2 separate regions of the Homo sapiens genome follow, and region 2 is linked to region 1. The links are contacts of gene promoters, found by promoter capture Hi-C in human tissues and cell types (Jung and others, 2019). All regions are on one chromosome and are shown on one strand. The core of a region is centred on a gene start or on the middle of the fragment in contact, and the rest is flanking DNA. Distances in the headings are between cores, read along the strand shown.

Region 1 (5,568 bases), core at 2,473-4,972:
CCAGCCTGGGTGACAGAGTGAGACTCCGCCTCAAAAACAAACAAATAAGCAAAAAACCGACTAAACCCTAAGGAGATACCACTACATACCCACTAAAATGGCTAAAATTAAAGACTGAGCAAACAACACCACATACTGGTGAGGATGTGGACCAATTGTTATTCTAATATATTGTTAATGGAAGTGTAAAATGGTACAACCACTTTGGAAAATGGTCTGGAAATTTCTTAAAAAGCTAAACACATAACTATGTTACAGTCCATCAACTCCACTCGAGTATTTACCCACGAAAATTTGTTTCCCTCCAAAAACCTGAAGAATATTCAACGTAGTTGTAAACAAAATACATAACTTTTTATTTTATTTTCTTGTAATTTTTTAAAATACGGAGCTTTTTTTTTCTTTTTTCTTTTTTTTTGAGACGGAGTCTCGCTCTGTTGCCCAAGCTGGAGTGCAATGGCGTGATCTCAGCTCACTGCAATCTCCACCTCCTGGGTTCAAGGGATTCTCCTGCCTCAGCCTCCCTTGTAGCTGGGATTACAGGCACCTGCCACCATGCCCAGCTACTTTTTTGGTATTTTTAGTAGAGATGGGGTTTCACCATGTTGGTCAGGCTGGTTTCAAACTCCTGACCTCAGGTGATCTACCCGCCTCGGCCTCCCAAAGTGCTGGGATTACAGACGTGAGCCACTGCGCCCGGCCTAAAATACAGAACTTCCAAACACACAATGCACTAATATCCAGTAATAAAAATGAACACATTACTGATACACTTCACAATGTGGATGAATCTCAAAAACATGTAACTAAAAGAAGTTTTACGCAAAAATACTTTGTGATTCCAAATATATGAAATTCTAGCGCAGGCAAAATTCATTTCTGGTGGAAGAAACTGGTTGCATCTAGGGGTATGGAGCCAGAGGTTGCCTGGGAAAGGCTTGAGGAAACTGTCTGAGGTTTTGGTAATGTTACTTCTGTTGATATGGGTTTAGGTTACAAAAGTGTTTACATTTTTCAATAGCAGGAAATATACACTGCATTTCATTGTATAAGATATTTACCTTAAAGAAGGAAAACAAAAATCCATGAGTGGGATAAAAAGGGCCTGAACTTAATGGTGGTGACTGGAATGAAAGGCTACTATGGGCAGGACAAATACACAATTATCCCTCCCTAACTGAGCCCAGGAACCAAATGGATTCAAATTATTTTCAGATGAATCTTTCACTGTCTGAATTCTTTCCACTTAGTGAAACTTGGATATCAAATAGTAACACAGTGTCCCTCAGTATAAAACACACTATTTGAACCCAAAAACCAAACAGGATAATGTGGGTCACTTTTATGAAGTAGGTAAAACTGGCAAAATTGGCAATGTATCAAATGTCAAGGACATCAGGAGAGAAAAAGTCAAGCTCACCTCCCAGGTTTTTGGTTAGGGTGACAGTGAGAATAAGGATGACAATGCTGCCAACTGAGATACAGAAATAAATCTACTGAAAATGCAAACCAGTTAGTCAAACAATCATTTTCTGGAGGAAAAATACATTCTCTGGTAAGAAAAAAAATTTGTTTCTATATTTTACCTAAGACACAAAACAGGATTCAGTACAGGTATTAAAAATTACTGGAAAATTGTCATAACATGCAGTATCTTTAAAGGGAACAAATGGAATCCAAGGTGTATTACACAAAATTGAACTATGAGTGGATTAAGATTCAGATTGGCAGGTATGGAGAAATTTCAAAAAATGTAATTTTCTTTTTTTGAGACCGAGTCTCACTCTGTTGCCCAGGCTGGAGTGCAGTGGTGCGATCTCAGCTCACTGCAACCTCCCAGGATCAAGTGATCCTCTTACCTCAGCCTCCTGAGTAGCTGGGATTACAGGCGCCCGCCACCATGCCCGGCTAATTTTTGTATTTTTTCGAAAGAATGGGTTTCACCACGTTGGCCAGGCAGGTCCTGAACTCCTGACCTCAGGCGATCCGCCTGCCTCAGCCTCCCAAAGTGTTGGGATTACAGGCGTGAGCCACCACGTCCAGCCTAAAAAATGCACTTTAAATTCTATGACTTCCTATCCAAAGTTATAGTTCAAATAAAAATATACCAAAAATTAACCTTAAATGTCTTTTGTACCAACTCCTCCCTGAATATAATTTTTTTTTTTTTTTTTTTTTTTTGAGATGGAGTCTCGCTCTGTCGCCCAGGCTGGAGCGTAGTGCCACGATATCGGCTCACTGCAACCTCTGCCGCCTGGGTTCAAGCGATTCTCCTGCCTCAGCCTCCTGAGTAGCTGGGATTAAAGGCGCGCGCCACCACGCCCCACTAACTTTTGTAATTTTCGTAGAGACGGGGTTTCACCATGTTGGTCAGGCTGGTCTCGAACTCCTGACCTAGTGATCCACCCGCCTTGGCCTCCCAAAGTGCTGGGATTACAGACGTGAGCCACTGCGCCTGGCCTCCTCCCTGAGTGTTGAAGGCTTTTATGTGTTATTTAAAACGTTTCAAACAAACGTTACTTCAGACGTTATCTACTTGTCTGTCATCCCCACTAACCAGAAAACTCCAACAAGGCAGGTACTCTGCCTTTTAAAAAATCCTATTACCAGCGCCTAGTATGTAACAGGTGCCCAATAACTATTTAGCGGATATTGACAATCCTTGACTCAACAGGAAAAAAACAAGCTAAATATTTATAATTGCTGGCTTAGCTATTAGAAACGTCTGCCTCTGTTCCAGGCTTAGTCTCAAGGAAAAACACCAAAACCAAATCTACTTGCAGGTAGTTTAGAATTATTCACATCAGCAAACAAGTTTTCAGAAGACTCACCTAACTGACAGGGTCTATTTATTTCTTAAGAAATAAAACAGGAGAACTATATATTATCTGAGTAATCAGCCACAATTACGTTGTGATAATTTCTGCCCTATATTGGGAGATTTTCCTAAATAAAAAGCCTACCTTAAAGGGAAATAGAGGTGGAATAATCAATCACAAATCTAAGGAGGATAAAAAGGTAAACTTAAAAATCGGCCGGGCACGGTGGCTCAAACCTGTAATCTCAGCCCTTTGGAAGGGCGAGGCGGGCAGAAAGCTTGAGCCCAGGAGTTCGAGACCAGCCTGGTCAACAAAGTGAGACACCATCTTTATTTAAAAAAACAAAAACTTGTGAAGCCGGAAGTCCTTCTCTGATTTAAAATATTTTGCAAACAGGTTTGTTTCCAGATAAGCTCATACAGCTTTCTAAGTACTGTTAAGCAGGACTGGGGAGTTCCACTCAAAAAGAAAATGAGTAACTGTAAGAGGGAGATGTGTCCCAGGAGGCGCTGCATCTTTAAAGCCTCTAAGTCACTAGGCAGGAAGAAAAGGCTCGGCCTTTATACCAATCTCTTGGAAGACACGCGGGATCCGCGAGCGACCCAGGCGGAAGCCCAGGCCCGAGCACGAGCTGCGGGCGCAGTAAGGCCGGCCGTTAGCAGGCCGCGCACACGCGGCTTTCCCGCCTCCTGCAAATGGGAGAGCCCAGCCTTCCGGACTCCGGGCCAAGCCCTCCCTTCACAGCCCCCAGAGCTGCTTGGTCACTCCCTCACCTCACGAGCTTCATCCTAGCGGCGCCGTCACCCTCTGGGTCCGACAGCACACAGAATCCTTCAACCGAACACTGACCGACTGCAGTATGAATGGCCGGAAGCGCCTACTCCAGGGGCTCCGGACGTCAAGAGCGCGCGGAGCACTGCAGGCGCATGGCGGAAACGCCGAGGCTGCGCTGGGCCGCACTCTCTTCCGGCCGCGAGGAGCGCGACTGCGGCCCCTGGCGGCTGGAGGTTGCCTTGCGACGGCTGAGGGTATCGAGGGCTGGTCTTGGAGAAAAATGTCCTACAAGAGAGGGAGATTCGAAGAGATTAAATCCAATTAATAGGACTGTCGCATTTTGGGAGGCCGAAGCGGGGGTATCACCTGAGGTCAGGAGTTCAAGACCAGCCTGGCCAACAGGGTGAAACCCCCGTCTCTACTAAAAAGACAAAAAATTAGCTGGGCGTGGTGGCGGGCGCATGTAATCCCAGCTACTCGGAAGGCTGAGGCAGGGGAATCGCTTGAACCCGGGAGGCGGAGGCTGCAGTGAGCGGAGATCGCACCACTACACTCCTGCCTGGGCAACAAGAACGAAACTCCGTCTCCCAAAAAAAAAAAAAAAAAAAAAAAGTACTGTCACCATCACGTTTCTGAACAGCAGGGCACTGTGAGTGCAGCACCTAATACAAATTCCTCACTGAACGGAAAGAAGGTCTTAGAGAAGCCCAAAGTCTTATGCTGATTCTGTTCCAACACCAGGAACCTAGCATTGCTTACTGTACCTGAAGCAAATCACACAATGGGCCAGGCGCTGTGGCTCAAGCCTGTAATTCCAGCACTTTGGGAGGCCGAGGCGGGCAGATAGCGAGGTCAAGAGATCGAGACCATTCTGGCCAACATGGTGAAACCCCGCCTCTACTAAAAATACAAAAATTAGCGGGGCGTGGTGATGCGCGCCTGTAGTCCCAGCTATTCGGGAGGCTGAGGCAGGAGAATCGCTTGAACCCAGGAGGTGGAGGTTGCAGTGAGCTGAGATCGTGCCACTGCACTCCAGCCTGGCAACAGAGCGAGACTCCGTCTCAAAAAATAATAATAATAAAAATAAAATCCACAATGTAGCAGATTATTTTCACTTTAAGTTCCAATCTATAAGACAAACTTTTCAGTCTTCATCTTTCTCAACATCTCATCAAAATATATATATTTTTTATTTTTTTGAGATGGAGTCTCACTCTGTCGCCCAGGCCGGAGTGCAGTAGCGCGATCTCAGCTCACTGCAACCCTTGCCTCCCGGTTTCAAGCCATTCTCGTGCCTCAGCCTCTCCAGTAACTGAGATTACAGGCGCGCATCACCATGGCCCGCTAATTATCGTCTTTTTATGTATGTATGTATGTACGTACGTATGTATGTATTTTGAGACAGAGTCTCCCTCTGTCGCCCAGGCTGTAGTGCAGTGGCGCGATCTCGGCTCACTGCAAGCTCCGCCTTCCGGGTTCACGCTATTCTCCTGCCTCGGCCTCCCAAGTAGCTGGGACTACAGGCGCCAGCCACCACGCCCGGCTAATTTTTTTGTATTTTTAGTAGAGACGGGGTTAGCCAGGATGGTTTCGATCTCCTGACCTCGTGATCCGCCCGCCTCGGCCTCCCAAAGTGCTGGGATTATAGGCGTGAGCCACCGCGCCCGGCATTATTGTCTCTTTAGTATGTGAGCTTCATCAAAATTTAACACAAACACTCCCCTTCCCTCTTTCGGGTTTCAGGATGCCAAGCTCACCTGGCCTTTTTCCTTATCCTACTAACTACTCTTGCTTTGTTTTGTTTTGTTTATAGACAGGGTTTCTCGCTCTGTTGCCCAGGCAGGAGTGCAATGGCACAATCAGGGCTCACTGCAGCCTTGACCGTCTGGGCTCAAGCTATCCTCCTGCCTCAGCCTTCTCAGTAGCTGGGACCACAAGTGCGTGCCACCATGCCCAGCTAATATTTTATTTTTTA
Region 2 (6,373 bases), core at 1,025-3,524, 69 kb after region 1:
TCACATCTGTAATCCCAATTCTTAAGGAGGCTGAGGTGGGAGGATGGCTTGAGCCCAGCACTTTGAGACCAGCCTTGGCAACATAGTGAGACCCCATCTGAACCAAAAAAAGAAAAAGAAAGTACACAGCGAGTACACAGCTTAATAATGGTGTATTTTCACAAAGTGAACACACCCATGTAAGAAGAAGCAACATTACTGGCACCTCCAAAACTCCTTTGTGATCCTATTACAGTCACTGCTTTATCACACTTCAGGTCTAGCTGCTCCTGTTACAGTCACTACTTTACTGCACTTCGGGTCTGGCTGCAACGCTGACTAGATTAGTTTTGCATTTATTTTTTACTTCTAAATACTTGAACAAACCTTGGGCCATTGGTACAGTTTTGACAATAGGCAATTTGAATTTTCCAAAACAAGTTTAATACAGCACACACACACAGAGTAATGAACCCCTTTGTACTGATCACCTACCTTCAACAATTCATGGATAATCATCTAACTTTCCCAATTATTTTGAAGTAAACTTAGGCATCATGTTATTACTTTAGTAGATATTTCTAAGTATGTACTTCTTTTTTTTTTTTTTGAGATGGAGTTTCACTCTTGTTGCCCAAGCTGCAGTGCAATGGCATGATCTTGGCTCACTGCAACCTCCACCTCCTGGGTTCAAGTGATTCTCCTGCCTCAGCCTCCCAAGTAGCTGGGATTACAGGTGCATGCCACCACGCTTGTCTAGTTTTTGTTTTTTTTTTGTTTTTTTTTTGTATTTTTAGTAGAAACGAGGTTTCACCAGGTTAGCCAGGCTGGTCTCGAACTTCTGACCTCAGGTAATCCGCCTGCCTTGGCCCCCAAAAGTGCTGGGATTACAGGTGTGAGCCACCATGCCCCACCTCTAAATATGTATTGCTTAAAGATGAAGATTACTCCTTTTTTGTTTGTTTTGAGTTGGAGTCTCGCTCTGTCGCCCAGGCTGGAGTGCAGTGGCGCGATCTCGGCTCACTGCAACCTCTGTCCCCTGGGTTCAAGCAATTCTCCTGCCTCAGCCTCCCAAGTAGCTGGGACTACAGGCGTGCACCACCACACCCAGCTAATTTTTTTGTATTTTTAGTAGAGACAGGGTTTCACCGTGTTAGCCAGGATGGTCTCGATCTCCTGACCTTGTGATCCGCCTTCCTCAGCCTCTCAAAGTGCTGGGATTGCAGGTGTGAGCCACTGCGCTTGGCCAAAGATTATTCCTTTTTTAAACATAAAAGTACCTTAAAGAATATAACTACACCTTCAATAAATGAATTAATTGTTGAAATCAAGTTTTCTATCAGAGTTCAAAGCTTCCCAAATAGCTCATGATTTCCTATGTTGCTTATTTGTTTGAATTAGGGTTTATATATTACATTGGTTGTTATGTCCCTTTAGTATCTTTTAATCCCAAAGTTCTCCCTGGTTCTGTTTTTTTCCCTTGTAATATTTGTTTATTTTTTGAAAAGCTGGTTGTTGGTTTTATTTCTTCAAATATTCCTTCAAATGTATATTCTCATTCAACCTTTTCATGAAATTGTGATTAATGTGAACTTTTAAAGTCGGGGTATTATTTATACAATTAAATCTACACATCTTAAGTGTTTGGTTTGAATTTTGATCATTGTATATACTCAGTGTATTTACCACTCAGTGTATTTTGTTTCCAATTGTAATCCTTTTTTTGATGGAAAAAGGAGAAATCCATTCTTTAGACTGTACAGTTTAGAGTAACTCCAATAGCAAGGAGAAAAGAGTAATAATTTCTTAATCCCAACACTTTGGAAGGCCAAGGCTGGCGGATCACCTGAGGTCGGGAGTTCGAAACCAGCCTGACCAACATGGAGAAACCCTGTTTCTACTAAAAATACAAAAAAAATCAGCTCGGCGTGGTGGCACATGCCTGTGATCCCAACTACTCGGGAGGCTGAGGCAGGAGAATTGCTTGAACCCGGGAGGCGGAGGTTGCAGTGAGCCGAGATTGCGCCATTGCACTCCAGCCTGGGCAACAAGATTGAAACTGTCTCAAAAAAAAAAATAAATAAAATAATAATAATTTCTTGCTGTTAGAAATACAAATTAGGAATATAAAGTTTTCTGCTTTTCATGAAGCAGAAATGGATGAAGTAAGAAAAAATGGGTTTTGGAAAATACTACTTGTTAGCAGAGGGTTATGTGTAACATACTAGTCCTGAAATATGTTGGAGCTAAAGGTCAGAAGTGTAAGTGCACTGCATTGGAATTTATTTCTTTGCAAAAACGTTGTGGCTATTTGATTATTCTTCTAAATTGCATGCACTCTTTCCTGAACCCTGCTTCTCCTCTGCCTTAATTTTAAGCATTGGATGGACTTTATCGCCTCTAAGTTTCTCTGAAGTAAGGAGGGTCATGTGGTTATTGTGACTAGCAGTTAACTGTAGTTGAGGCATAGATATGTCTTGAGTATGTTATTTGAACAAATATTAGCTAACTTGTTTCTTTCATCTTTTATTTGCCTATGATTTGAATTTATTGCTGTATTTACCCTTGGGAACATTTATTGATTGACTGTTTTGTTAGATTAGTGCATTGATCTTAGTTTGATACTAGTAAGAAGGGAGAATGGAAGTTGCTAAGAGTTACTTAGTGGCTACTCTTTGAGCAGTCATCTTAAATACAGCACCCTCGTACCTACCCAAGTGATGGAGGTGATGATAGCCATTTTTTAGAATGCTAAGATCAGGAAACAGAATCAGAGTTCCAGTGATTTGCCTAAGGCCATGCATCTAGTAACTACCAAGAACAAGGATCTAAACCCTGAACTTTTACTCTAGAGTTACTTAAAAGTTTTCACTGAAATATGCTTTCTTAGCTTGGCATGGTGGTGCACGCCTGTAGTCCCAGCTACTTGGGAGGCTGAAGCAAGAGGATTGCTTGAGCCCCAGGAGTTTGAAGCTGCTGTGAGCTGTGATCTTGCCACTGCACTCCAGCCTGGGTGACAGAGTGAGACTCTGTCTCAAATAAGTAAATTACATTAATAAATAAAACTTGCTGTTTTCATGAACATTAGAAATCTAAGCAATACTAAGTATCCTTTTGCAGCCTTTGCTTCTTAAAGGGCTTTTATTTAGTACATGAAAAAAAGGTACTATTTAAAACATAAAATTATATCAAATGGAATTGTGATAAAAATTTCGGCATGAACATACAAGTCTGAAGTTGTTTCAAGAGAAAGTTTTGCACTCAAAAATTAGTAAAGCAAAATAATTTGTCTAATGTCTATAATGCAATATAATGACATGAAACCAGTATTACTGTTTTCAAAGGCATTTAATAGGAAAATAGTTTATGGAACTGTCTTTAGATGATTCAGTTCAGGAAGAATGGTTTTCTTATAACTTGAGGTTACTTACATTTTTAGGTCTTTTCGATGTTTTAAAGTGAAAATCTCTTTTCATTTTATTAAAAATAGGTTCATAAATTTAAAAGCTTTTTCATAAAGTAACATTAGTAATAGAAATTTGTTTTTAAAGAGGTGATGTCTTGTAAATCTTCTAAAAATTGTTTACCTATATTCAGATCTCTATATGATTCAGATTTACTTTCTTTCTTTTTTTTTTTTTTTTTTTGGGACAGTGTCTCGCTCTGTCACCCAGGCTGGAGTGCAATGGCGCGAACTCAGCTCACTGCAACCTCCACCTCCCGAGTTCAAGCAATTCTCCTGCCTCAGCCTCCTGAGTAGCCAGAACTACAGGCGCGTGCCACCACACCCGCCTAAAAATACAATAATTTTTTGTATTTTAGTAGATTCGGGGTTTCCAGGATGGTCTCAATCTCCTGACCTTGTGATCTGCCCTCCTCCCAAAGTGCTGGGATTACAGGCGTGAGCCACTGCACCCGGCCTTAAGTTTCTTTTTTAAAACCTTATTTACGTTGAAGAACTACAGATTTAGTTTCTTAGATGAAAAAAGGACTTCTGTGGCTATTGTTTCTGCTCCTTTCTTTTCAAATCTTGAGAACATTTTACCAATCATAATTTTAATCATCTGAATTTTAACTTGGGTACTCTATTATGTAAACAAATTTTGGATTTTAAATATTTTAATTTAAATTGTTACATATACCAAGCTTATTACCTAGAATTTTTGTTCCCAACTATGATCTTTCTACCTTCCCCCTCCAAAAAATTCCTGATGGTTTAAGAAAACGAATCTGCTTTCACACTTGCCATAGTATATTTTTAAAGAAATCTAGTTGCCATTTTCTTGGTTTCATTGAGCTTTTTGTGTTCTTAGAAGAAACATCAGAAAAAATATGGTGGTTTTCTCTACTAGAAGTATAAATGGCTTCTGGAAAGGCCTTTTTATGTAAAGTTGGTTGGGTTAAGACAACTGGAACAACTAGTTAAGCTCATTCCTTCTGTACTTATTTTGAACTTCAAAGCTCCTAGTTTTAACCTCTGGTTCAGTCCCATCTTACTAGATTTAAGTGGCTTTTGTTTTGTTTTGTTTTTTTATGCAGGTTCTGCTCATTAATCACCACGAGTGTGGATCTGAAGAAGAGTTTATTACCTCTCTTTTTTTGAGTATGTTTAACTTCAGATACACACAACGTAGCTTCTCCTTCCCTATTAGATTCTTAGAAGGTAGTTATATTTTTTATAGTCTCCTTCTTGTGGCTTTGGTAGTTGTGATCAATAAGCATAAGACTATTCCTTTCATACTGGGCTACTGCATGCAAATCAGTTCATTTAAAACCTCCTGGAGGTCTTTGGCATGCCAGACATAAAACTTGGAGTGTTTGTTTGTGGAGGTAACCATGTTCCAATGAAATATAAGAGTTTAATTCTTTTATCAAGAATCTGGGAGAGTTATAGTTTCTGGGAATTACTGACTTTAAGGGGCTTGCTTTTGGTGTGTGGCTTTCAAAATTAATTTAAAACGGGAAATGATAAATTAGAAATACTCTTGTGGTATTAGATATATCTCTGAATGAGTAGTAGAGAGAAATTAGCTTGCCTTGTACCTATTGTATGCTTAACAAAATAGCCGATTTATCATGCTTTATTAAGCATTAATGAGCATATATTTTTCATGTTTGCAATTTTTAGACAAATTGATGTACTTTTTATCTTGTACGTGGATATAATGAATAGAATATACATAAAATTCATACTTTACATATGTGTGTATATATATATATATATATCTAGGGCTGGAAGAAAGAAAGAATTCTGGCTGAATACCCTGATGGCAGGATAATAATGGTTCTTCCTGAAGACCCAAAGTATGCCCTGAAAAAGGTAAATTTCCAGTGAAACTTCATGTAGAGTGGATAATATCATTTTGCAGTTAATTTTTTTTTTTTTTACCCTGAGACAGGGTCTTGCTCTGTCGCTCAGGCTGGAGTGCAGTGGCACGATCTCGGCTCACTGCAACCTCTGTCTCCCGGGTTCAAGGGATTCTCCTGCCTCCACCTCCCGAGTAGGTGGGACTACAGATGTGTGCCACCACACCTGGCTAACTTGTATTTTTAGTAGAGACAGGGTTTCACCATATTGGCCAGGCTGGCCTCGAACTCCTGACCTCATGATCTGCCTGTCTTGGCCTCCCAGAGTGCTGGGATTACAGGCTTGAACCACTGCGCCTGGCCCATTTCGCAGTTAATTTTAAGAGGATAACAGATTGCTGGCATAGTATATTGAAACACCTATTCTGAAAACAAGAAATAAGCGTTTAAAGGGTATAACCCAATTCAAAAATTATGTTAAACTTTGTAGTGTGTCCAGTATATGAATTCTAAATGAACTGAGTACTGTCCAGTATTATTACTAAATTGTCCTGTATTAGTAGTAGTTAATAATTTGAGTGCCAAAGTAGATATGCTTATCTTCTGTTAAGTGAATAATGCCAACTAAAAGATTTCACGATCAGAAATAAAAGCTGAATTATAATAATTTGGATAATTAATAAAATGTAAAGTTTCATTCTAAGGGAAAATTTCTAAATAAAAGCTTATTGCAGAAGGGGATTGCTAAGTAGGTCATAGTAAACCTGAAATTAAACATGACTTAATCTTATAATATTTTTAAGATATAAGGATATATTCCAGTTTATAAATATAATGCGGAAACATAAAAGTTTATTTTATCTAGTGTGAGGCAGGTGTTAGTCTAACTTAGAGTTCCATACTTCAAGTGTTCAGAGAGTTTATTGTGTTGAGAAGTGAACCAGATAATGAATCCTGGAACCATTTTATTATATAGGTTATTTTAAAAATCAGGAACCAAAAGGTAAACTTATTTTTAAATAAGTTTAATATGTTCATTACACTTTCAAATAATATACTCAGTATGTTTTTCTTCAACCTCTGGATG

Evidence for each region. Contacts are between HindIII fragments. The study calls those that stand out against the background at their distance.
Region 2: a fragment that was not itself captured here is called in contact with the fragment with the promoter of SNRPD1 in region 1 in 6 of the 25 tissues and cell types used here (adrenal gland, aorta, dorsolateral prefrontal cortex and 3 more).

What each region holds. Positions count from the first base shown.
Region 1 is chr18:21,610,468-21,616,035 of GRCh38, reverse strand. It overlaps SNRPD1 (small nuclear ribonucleoprotein D1 polypeptide), which reads right to left and starts at 3,722. Exons shown (of 4, transcript NM_006938.4): 1 at 3,593-3,722. The coding sequence starts at 3,606. RefSeq lists an enhancer at 3,574-3,663 and a silencer at 3,924-3,973. The HindIII fragment of the contact is 13,798 bases long and covers 1-5,568 here.
Region 2 is chr18:21,538,846-21,545,218 of GRCh38, reverse strand. ESCO1 (establishment of sister chromatid cohesion N-acetyltransferase 1) reads left to right here. Exons shown (of 12, transcript NM_052911.3): 9 at 5,210-5,299. Among named protein-coding and RNA genes, the nearest start is that of ESCO1, 59 kb to the left of the region's middle. The HindIII fragment of the contact is 5,589 bases long and covers 1-5,068 here.